2 separate regions of the Homo sapiens genome follow, and region 1 is linked to region 2. The links are contacts of gene promoters, found by promoter capture Hi-C in blood cells and fetal thymus (Javierre and others, 2016). All regions are on one chromosome and are shown on one strand. Each heading gives the region's core, a stretch centred on a gene start or on the middle of the fragment in contact. The rest is flanking DNA. Distances are from core to core; before and after follow the strand shown. Region 1 overlaps CNKSR3 (CNKSR family member 3). Region 2 holds the start of CNKSR3 (CNKSR family member 3).

The links. The method cuts DNA at HindIII sites, captures the fragments that hold promoters and counts their contacts. A CHiCAGO score of 5 or more calls a contact.
Region 1: a fragment that was not itself captured here is called in contact with the fragment with the promoter of CNKSR3 in region 2 in 1 of 17 cell types (megakaryocytes); the score reaches 5.1 in megakaryocytes.

What each region holds. Positions count from the first base shown.
Region 1 is chr6:154,397,631-154,402,626 of GRCh38, reverse strand. It overlaps CNKSR3 (CNKSR family member 3), which reads left to right. Exons shown (of 13, transcript NM_173515.4): 13 at 1-4,996. Among named protein-coding and RNA genes, the nearest start is that of IPCEF1, 43 kb to the right of the region's middle. The HindIII fragment of the contact is 7,956 bases long and covers 1-4,996 here.
Region 2 is chr6:154,508,569-154,513,126 of GRCh38, reverse strand. It overlaps CNKSR3 (CNKSR family member 3), which reads left to right and starts at 2,442. Exons shown (of 13, transcript NM_173515.4): 1 at 2,442-3,064. The coding sequence starts at 3,013. It overlaps LOC101928868 (a long non-coding RNA gene), which reads right to left and starts at 2,336. Exons shown (of 2, transcript XR_001744422.2): 1 at 2,165-2,336. The HindIII fragment of the contact is 4,325 bases long and covers 1-3,849 here.

The DNA of each region.
Region 1 (4,996 bases), core at 2,283-4,782, 110 kb after region 2:
TATGAGGTGAGTACTGCTGTTAGTCCCGTTTTGCATATGAGGGAGTTACCCAGGTTATGTGCTAGTCATCCTGGTTATGTGCTAATAATGGCAGAGCTGGGATTAAAATGAAAGCAGCCTGGCTCTGGCTTTCTTGCTCATAATCACTCAGTATATAGGCTTCCTTCCATTTATAGAATTCTCTCATTGCATTCTTGAAAAATCCAAAGCATATTAAAACTGGGCTGAAAATTCTGTGTGTTTATATATAAAATGAAATGAGATCATAGATTTGTTATTGTAAACTGAGTTCCCATCTATATGAATATTGGGCGGGGCAATTGAAAGTTGTGTTGATGAGTCAGCTCTTTGTTGTGAGGGCTGTAAGCTGCAGGGCTTGTGTATCACGCATGCTCCAACAGGTTAAATCTCAGTAGTGGCCGCCCATCAGTGGCACCCCTAACATGCTCACATTTCCAGAACTGCCTCTTGGGCGGAGGTGGGGGAGGGTACCATCTCTTTCAGAACAAGTATTTTAAAAGAAATCCTGTATCCTCCTTAAGTAGTATTTCAGTCTATATATTTGTCCATTTCCTATCTCTGCTTCTCTCTCAGTTCTTTCCCCACCAAACCTGAAATTTCAGAATCTATTTTGTGGGCTTTCTTTTTTTAATTTTTTCCCTGGAAGACCATGAACATTCCTCTTTAGGTTGTTAGTATTGCAGCAAACCCTGAGGTATTGACACAAAACTTTTCATCCGCCAAAGAGCTCGAGTAAGTAAATCTGTCTGACATTTGAATGTCACCAGCAAAGCATGAGACTCATGCTGCCTTTTGCCACCATAGGCATGAATGGTATGGAGAAGTAGGCCTGACTTGTTTTCTTCTATTGTAGATGAGATTAGTTTTGTAGACCATTAGTTCACATTTTGCTCCTACCCTTGTGCATAAAATCACTGCATCATTTCCGTGGGGATGAGACTACTGCAAGCTACTTCCTTGGAGATTCTGTGGAAGATGGACATCTTAAAAGTAAACTACTTTTGGTATGACTGCTCATTGGCTTGGCCAGTGATACTTGATGTTATTTATTTTGTGAGTTACTCTGTGTCTTAATCAGCTCAGGCTGCAATAACAAAATACCATACACTGGGTAGCTTAAATGACAGAAATTTCTCACCGTTCTGGAGGCTGGGAAGTCCAAGATCAAGGTGAGTTCCTGGTGAGCACCCTTACCCTGGTTTGCTGATAGCCATCATCTTCCCATTGCATCCTTACATGGCAGAGAGAGAGAAAGGAAGCAAGCAAGCTCTCCTTTCCCTTCTTGTGAGGGCGCTAATATTCATGAGGGCTCCACCCTCAGGACCTACTCACTTCCCAAAGGCCCACTTATGGTATTAGCTCCGCCTCCTAATACCATTGCTTTGGAGATTAGGGTTTCAACAGATGAATTTTGGGAGGACATAAACATGCAATCCATAGCACTCTGCTTTTGTATATTTTTCAAACCTTTCATGCTAATCAGCTGGAAGGTGAATATTTTAAAATCTATTTTAAAACTGGCTTAAGGAGCACACAAAAGCTGATTTCTGATGTTTCTTCCAATACGTGGAAAATTTTGCATGATGTATTAACCCCTAGTTAGGGTCCCTCAACCCCAGTTGAGGACCTCAACACACATTTGGTAATACCTAAGGGAATTTAAATATATATTTTGTAGCCTATAGCATATGGAATTAGAAAAAAATTAGTCTCTTTACTGTAAAATTTACCTTTTAATTATTTGGAAATTTCACAATTGCCAAGTTTCAACTTAAAGTTTCTATTTATTTGGGGCCAGAATTATTGCCAGAAGTGTGCTAATTTGACAAAGGGTACCTTTTACATAAGTAAAGGAAAAAGTGATTACATCATGTTCAGACCTGCTAGAGGGCCTTGTTTTTCCTCTAGTTTTAGGGGTGTGGAGTCTGTCCCAAACCCTATATATGTGTGCATTTGTGTATGTAAAAGACAAATTTTTTATACTCAAAAGTTTGTCTTAAATAATGGCCTATGGCCTACTGATTTGGATAGAGGAGAGAAATTTTGTCTATAAGCAACAAAAAATGCTACACAGCCAGGAGACTGTCACACACAGTTTTTCAGAACCTTTGGGCCACATACTGCACTCCCCTTCCATAGAAATACACATGGGGTCAGTGATTAAGGACTCAATTCTGGTTGTGACTTGGCCATCCATAGGCATATTCTAAAGTTCTATGGCAACCTTTATGAAGCTCGTCTTCTGAGTTGATCACCTGTTCATGCGCTGCCCATTTACAACATACCTCAGGGATTAAAACGTGAGGCTACACCTAAGGAAAGTCGGTCCTAATCCTGCGTTTCCTCCTGCATGTCACTGACCATTGGAGTCACTGCTCTCTGAGGAAGACAGTTTACAGCCTGAGCATTCATGTCACGCTCACAGCCAACCTGTTACTTGCTGGCCTCCTTTACCAAGCTCCTTGTTTCATGAAGAAGTTGTGAAACTGAAGTTGGAGGAAAAAAATTAAGAAATAAACCTCAAAGGTATTTAAAAGGGCAGTAGAGTAATTACTCCTCACACCCAGGGATAAGGATATTCTCATCATTTTCTCTCCTCTTGCCTGGAGCATAAACATTCAGATGTTTGTGAAGAAATGATTAAAAGGAGAGAAAATATCAGGAGAAAAATGATTAAAATGAGAGAAATGTTCTTCCACTGACTAGACCCATTAAAGGGGAGGATTTAACTTTATTGTTAGAGGGGTGAAAACTGGATTTTAAGATATTTCTTCACCATTTTGACATATCTTGGGCTGAACATTTTGATTATTTTAGAGAATCAGGGAGCTTCAGAAATGAAGTTTAATATAAAGTAAGATTGTCTCTGAAGGAAGAAATTGTCCTTTTAACTCAGTGTCAGGTTCCGTTTTCTTACTCATATCTAAACTTCCTGTCACTCCAACTGAGGCTGCACCAGGATAAGAGGAGGGATTTGAGGAATTAGCGCGAATTTAGAAGCCTTTGACTTTTGGGAATTTGCATCAAGCAGATAGAAGCAGGCGGGGGCTCAGCTTTTGAAGTTGGATCATCCAGCTGTCTCACTTTGCCACTTATGGGATCTGTGACTTGAAGCAGGTGACTGACCTCTCCACTCCTCAGTTATCTATGAAATGGGGATAATACTAGCATCTACTTCGAAGGCTTATGGTGATTAAATGAGATAATGTTTTTAAGGCCCTTTCTTCGCATAGTCTGGCACACAGCATTTAAGAGATGTTGACTCGTGTTCCTGTAGTAGCAGTACTGACTCCATCTCAGCCTCTAGTGAATAAGGTATTCAGAGCTGGCCAACAGGAAATTGCTCATTCTTTTGTCCATAAGCAGCAAAATAATGCCAGTGTGACACTGTCAGAGGGCTGCAGTGTGGTCAGTGGCCTAGAGATGCAGCTTTTACTGTTAGAAAACTCACTCGGATGTTTTAGCCGATTCAGAACTCAAGAAATGACAAAAGTCTGTGATTGGACACACTTTTTTTTTTTTTTTTGAGACGGAGTTTCAGTCTTGTTGCCCAGGCTGGAGTGCAATGGTACGATCTTGGCTCACCGCAACTTCCGCCTACTGGGTTCAAGTGATTCTCCTGCCTCAGACTCCCAAGTAGCTGGGATTACAGGCATGTGCCACCACACCCGGCTAATTTTGTATTTTTAGTAGATGGGGTTTCTTCGTGTTGGTCAGGCTGGTCTCGAACTCCCGACCTCAGGTGATCCGCTCACCTCAGCCTCCCAAAGTGTTGGGATTACAGGCGTGAGCCACTGCGCCCCGCCTAGAGTATTCTTTCAATATTGACTTGATTTGTCATCATCATATCTTTTCTATTAAATCCCTTCCACTTCCTTCAATGAAATCGTATATGAAAACAAAGGGAATCGGAGCATTTTGCCCACCTCCTAGTTGGCTGAATTATTTTTGCCTCCCATTCCCATCTTGAAGTGGTATTCCTCAAACTCGTTTCTATGTTTCCTGTGGTTTTAAATAAAGGAATAATGTAGAATGGTATCTATTTTGGACATTCTCATCGTGAAAAGGAACTCTTACACAAATACAAAGCCAAGAGATTGTGTTGCCATTGTTGAAGCTGAAAAGGACAGTCACTGGATGCCTCCCCACCCAAGGCCAAGGCTTTGGTAGGTCCAGGAAGTGAAAAGGAAAGAGAAGCTATGGGAGAGACAAAGGGAAGTAAAAAATGGTTGTTCGGCTCAGCATAACAATCACTTTTGTGGGGCTTATTGGTTGTGCATAAATTTCATCCATTTGGGCACACACACAGATGTGACACCCAGACCACTCAGACACTTGGCTAACACTGATGCCGTCATCCTGAATGTTGTTTCTGGAAGGACTTTCATGAATAGAATCTATTTCAGATTGGCCGTAAGTCTCGATTTATTGATCCGCACCACTGGACTGGGGTGGGGTTGTGTCCACTTTTTCCCTGCCCCTTCCCTGCTTTGGCTCTTGTGATTGTGTCCTCCGTGTGTCAGGCAGAGCCCTGTGAAGGTGTGGATATGTGGCCATATTTTACCTGCATAATCTGCAGTTCATATGATTCAGCCTAATGGGTTGCAATGCCCTGAGGACAGAGACCATACTTTTTCTTCCTTTGTCTTTTTAGCGAAATTCAATCCTGTTCTGCGCCTGCGCCACAGTTGCAGGCTGTACTGTCTGCCCTGTGCATCTCACACACCCCCACTGCACTGTGCACCTAGTGATGGCCGCAGATTTGCTTTTACTCATCTTCCAGGGCCTACCCTGTTAATTCCATCACAGTTGCAGGCTGTACTGTCTGCCCTGTGCATCTCACACACCCCCACTGCACTGTGCACCTAGTGATGGCCGCAGATTTGCTTTTACTCATCTGTTTGCAGGGCCTACCCTGTTAATTCCATCACAGTTGCAGGCTCTACTGTCTGCCCTGTGCATGCATCTCACACAC
Region 2 (4,558 bases), core at 1,193-3,692:
ATTTACAAATTATCCTTTTATATATACTTAATTTTTAAAGCCATTTACTTAAGATTCTGCCTTTATTAGCTTTGTATGCCATTAATAGCTTTGTATGTCCTCAAGTTTGCATTTCAGCTAGGAAGGCAGGCCTCCCTAAAACTTTCACGTGCTAACAGCTGTAATTAAGGTAGAAGGCTTTATTTAAATAGTAATTAGCTTCCAGAAGTTGAAGTGTAAACAGAATGCTAATTCATTTAGATAGTTAATTGGTCTTCCGGGTTAGAGATCTTAGCGTGGCCTTCCTCTTTAGCTATGCTGTATTTATGTACCAAGTATAGATAGTGTGTTGGCTCCGTGGGATGTTTTGCAAACTCTTGCTTGACTCGCAGAATTTTAGTGTTTTAGCTCTTCTGGTAAAGACTACTGCCAATGAATCTGAAGACGTGAAAACATCAAGTAAAATTCCACGGCAAAATCATTAATATTTGACCTTTCTTTTATAATTGTGGGGACCGTATGGCCCAGTTTATTCATGTTATTCCAATGTAATTCTTGATAGTTGCTTCTTTCATGCTCAAGAATATTTTGATTTGGAGGTAAGTTATGTGGTCACCCTAATCATAATCAGAAATCACACAACAGGCAGTGATTGCTGAAACAAAAGGTGTGCATCAGGTTGGTTACCCTTTCCAGTGAACCAGTGTCAAGGTCCTTCTCTCTGCTGACTGCTGTAAAGATGGTTAATGCTGGATGTCATTAAGTTTAAAGGTCTTTTTTTTTTTTTAAGGACAACTACTATATCAGGAATTTTGTCATTGCCTTTGCCAACTTGTGTGGTCTGCCAGTCACTTTCGCTAGATGAAGAAAAAGAATCACTATATTTGATAGTTGTGTGTCTCTGTGTTGCCCAGTCCTCTAGGGGAGTTGAATGGGAGGTGGGTCTGATGTTTTGCTTTTTAAAAATGTTTCTTTTGCTTGGATGCTCCAGCTCATCAGATGCTAGGCTGGCTGCTAGCTATTTTTCCACATGTGCGTCCAAACAGACCTGTGTAAGTAGCACATATCACACGAATTCAACAAATACTGAATGAATACAGTGGCTGGCACATAGGAAGCATTCCCGGATATTTACTGAATGAATAAATACCAACCTTGCCTTTGGTCCCGTGCTGGGTGCTACAAGTTAGGTGGTAGGAAGAAAGGGAGGAGAGAAAACTCTATATGAGATCAAGTAGGTTCTGCCCTCAAGGGGTTAATAGTCTCCAAGAGGAAGATGTAAATAAATAACCGTAATTGAAAGTAAGAATCATTCAGTGCCAAAAAGAGTGGGAGGAAGAGGTTGCTGGGCGGGGCGGGGCGGGGGTGGGGGGTTGGGGGGGGTGTTGGGGGGTGAGGGGAGGGGTGGTGGCGAGGGTGGCAGGGGTTGGGGGGGCGGTTAGGATGCAGGGAGAACTTGAAGGAGAGGCAGGCATTCAAATTAGATTTTCCCCCAGTTTAGCATTAACTCTGGCCCCAGTTGCAGTCCATGAATGTGGAAGGGCCCTCCCCTGCCAGGCGCTGAAATTGTGCACGAGCTATTTTTTTTTTCTTGGCTAACAGCTTTCCTCTCACGGTTAATGACTAATCCCAAGGAGCATTAGCTCACTCTGTAAATATGAAATTATAATATAGCAAAATATAACGCTAAAAGCCATCAATCTAATTTTAGTCGCAAAGTTGAAATTTCATAGCAATAGCATTAAAAGAGTTACATTGTTACGATTTCAGTCAACATATAAATGAAATAAAATTGTTCTGGCCTGGCGCGGTGGCTCAGGCCTGTAATCCTAGCACTTCGGGAGGCCGAGGCTGGCGGATCACCTGAGTTCAGGATTTCGAGACCAGTCTGGCCAACATGGTGAAACCCTGTCTCTACTAAAAATACAAAAATTAGCCGGGCGTAGTGGCAGACGCCTGTAATCCCAGCTACTCCGGAGGCTGAGGCGGGAGAATCGCTGGAACCTGGGAGGCAGAGGCTGCAGTGAGCTGAGATCGCGCCACTGCACTCCAGCCTGGGCGACAGAGCGAGGCTCCATCTAAAAAAAAAAATTGTTCTACTTTAAGAAACCTAAAATGACGGCTTAATGGCAGAGTAGTATTACGATATAAAGCATTTAAAATGAACAGAACATGCAGATCTTACTTTTTTTTTTCTTTTCTTTTTTTTTTAGTGTATTGTTGCTCACAGCGAGACAGAGTGTTCTGCTACCCACAGGGCCAGGGCCTCACACAAACCAGCGGGCTCTCCAGGGTGCGCGCGCGATCTACAACCCGCCCCTTGAAAAGGAAAGCGGGGCCCGGGACGCTGCGGGTGTGAGCCGGACCGGCTTAGAGAGGGAAAGTAACCCGAGTCCGCCGCTTCGGGCGGACCCGCCCCCTCCCACGAGTTTCCCTAGACCCTCGGCCCCGCCCTCTCTTTTATTCGGTTTGCAGCAACCGGAGCTGAAACTTTGCAACCCGAGCGCGCACGCTCTGCGCTCGGCCCTGCCAGGGCGGCACGGGAGGGCGGCGCAGGAGGTGGGACCTGCGCCGGGAAGGCTCCGGGACGCCAGCGCACGCGGAGCGGGGACCCCGGAGAGCCAGCAGGCGAGAAGACCGGCCGAGGGAGAGCCGATCGCGCCTCGAGAGATCCGAGGAAGTGGTCGCGGGCCGGGAGGCTCCCGTGCCGAGCCGAGGCCAGGGGTCTGGGGTCGCAGCCCGGCGTGCCTGCAGCTGCCGTCGCTCGGGAGCAGCAGCTGTGCCCGGGATCCCGGCGGCGGCGGGGGAAGGAGGAGCTGCAGCTGGACTGTGGCAGCTGGAGGGAGAGGGCCGGGCTCCCCTGGCGGAGCCGCGCTGGGACGACTGGCTGACCGCGGCCATGCAGTCTTGACGGAGTCGCTCGGGCGCAGGGGAGCAGCCGCGGGCGCGCCCTCCCGGGAAGGGGCACCGGAGCGCAGGCAGCAGCACTTTATCTGCGACTCTCCAGCCCAGCGAGAGGCGAAGCGGTTTACCATGGAACCCGTGACCAAGTGGAGCCCCAAACAAGTGGTGGACTGGACTAGAGGTGCGCGGGCCTTGGGGGGGTCCGGAGTCCTCCAGCCTCGGGGATGGGGCGGACGAGGAGCTGGGGAAGAGGGTACTTGGCCCTTCCTCCCGGCGAGAAGCGGTGAGGGCACAGCCCGGTGACAATGCAAACTTCTGCCGAGTGGCCTGTGCGCTCCTATCTCTCGTACCTGCTCCGAGCTCTTCCTTTCCAGGGTGCGGATTGTGGCAAGCCGAGGGGAGCCCTATCTTTAAACCAGGGAGTAGGGGTGGCCTTTCTGTGGCGGTTGAGGGCTGGGGATGCCGATCTCGGGACTCGGCACTCGGGCCGGGGGGCGCTCTCCCTGCCTGGCCCCGGTGCGGTGCCCGGCGACCCGGGGGCCCGAGTGCAGAGGCACAAGGTGCCTTTGTGTGGGTGACTCCCGCGGGACCTCGTCCATGCCGCCTGCCCAGAGCCGTCCGCAGGCGTGACAGGGCTGTCGGACAGGTAGAGGGAGACTCCGGCGGGTCCGCCGAGCCTGTCTGTTTTTGTTGGAGAAGGCGAGAGGGCCGCGCAAAAGCCAACACCATAGCATTTGCGCCAGGGAGAAACCTCGAGCCAGGACTCCCCGGGAGGCAGTGACTTTTGCTCCGGGAGGCGCCAGTATCCCCGGTGGCGCTGCATTTTCAGGCCACATGTAAGCACTGGGAAGGAGAAATATAATTGTTTGGAACCACTGTCTTGATTCATACAATATTTGGGATGAGGAAGGCAGTGGGGCTGGGGCGGTGGGGGGGTGGTGGGGGGAATGAGCAGAGGTAGAAGCTTGTCCTCCTAGCTGGCTCGCTTACTTTTCAATGTCTCCTACGATTTCGAGGGAAAGGTACTAGAGTTTACTCAACCCTTTTCTGTACTTTCAAGAGAACAAAGTCCACCAAGAACAATCTGTATTTTCATGGTTTCCCCCCACCCCCAACGACATCTCTGTTTCAAGTTACTATTTGTTTTTCTATCTGCTCTTCCAGGTGAGGAATGGTGTTCTTTCTCAGTAATAACTAGAATTGTGTAGCGCTTTACAGTTTGCTAAGAGCTCTCTCTGTTATTGTCCTTGGTCATCACAGTAAGCCTGTGAGGTAGGTAATACTGGTAAGACCAGGTCGTCTTTCAAACCGTCCCACCCATGGCTGCAGCATAATGAAAACTGATCACCGCTACATCTCATTTCTCACGCCTGTGACTTACACATAGACCACGTGGAATAGGATGTCCGAGGTGTGTGGGGTGTGTCAGTGGGTATGTCTGACCATTTCCTGCTCCTCTGGGAGAACTCCTTGAGAACGGGTTTGTCAAGTGAGCAGAATTTCCTGGACTCCTATATAAAATGAAGCTAAAAACAACACATGTTTCTGCCTTGGTGACTAGGTTTCCCTTGGTAAAGAGTAAGTGGCATTGCCAGTACTTGGTAGGAAGCATGAGCTTAAAAGCCATCCATGCCCACGCTAGCTTGAAATGAGGTGTGTTCCTCCATTCAAGATG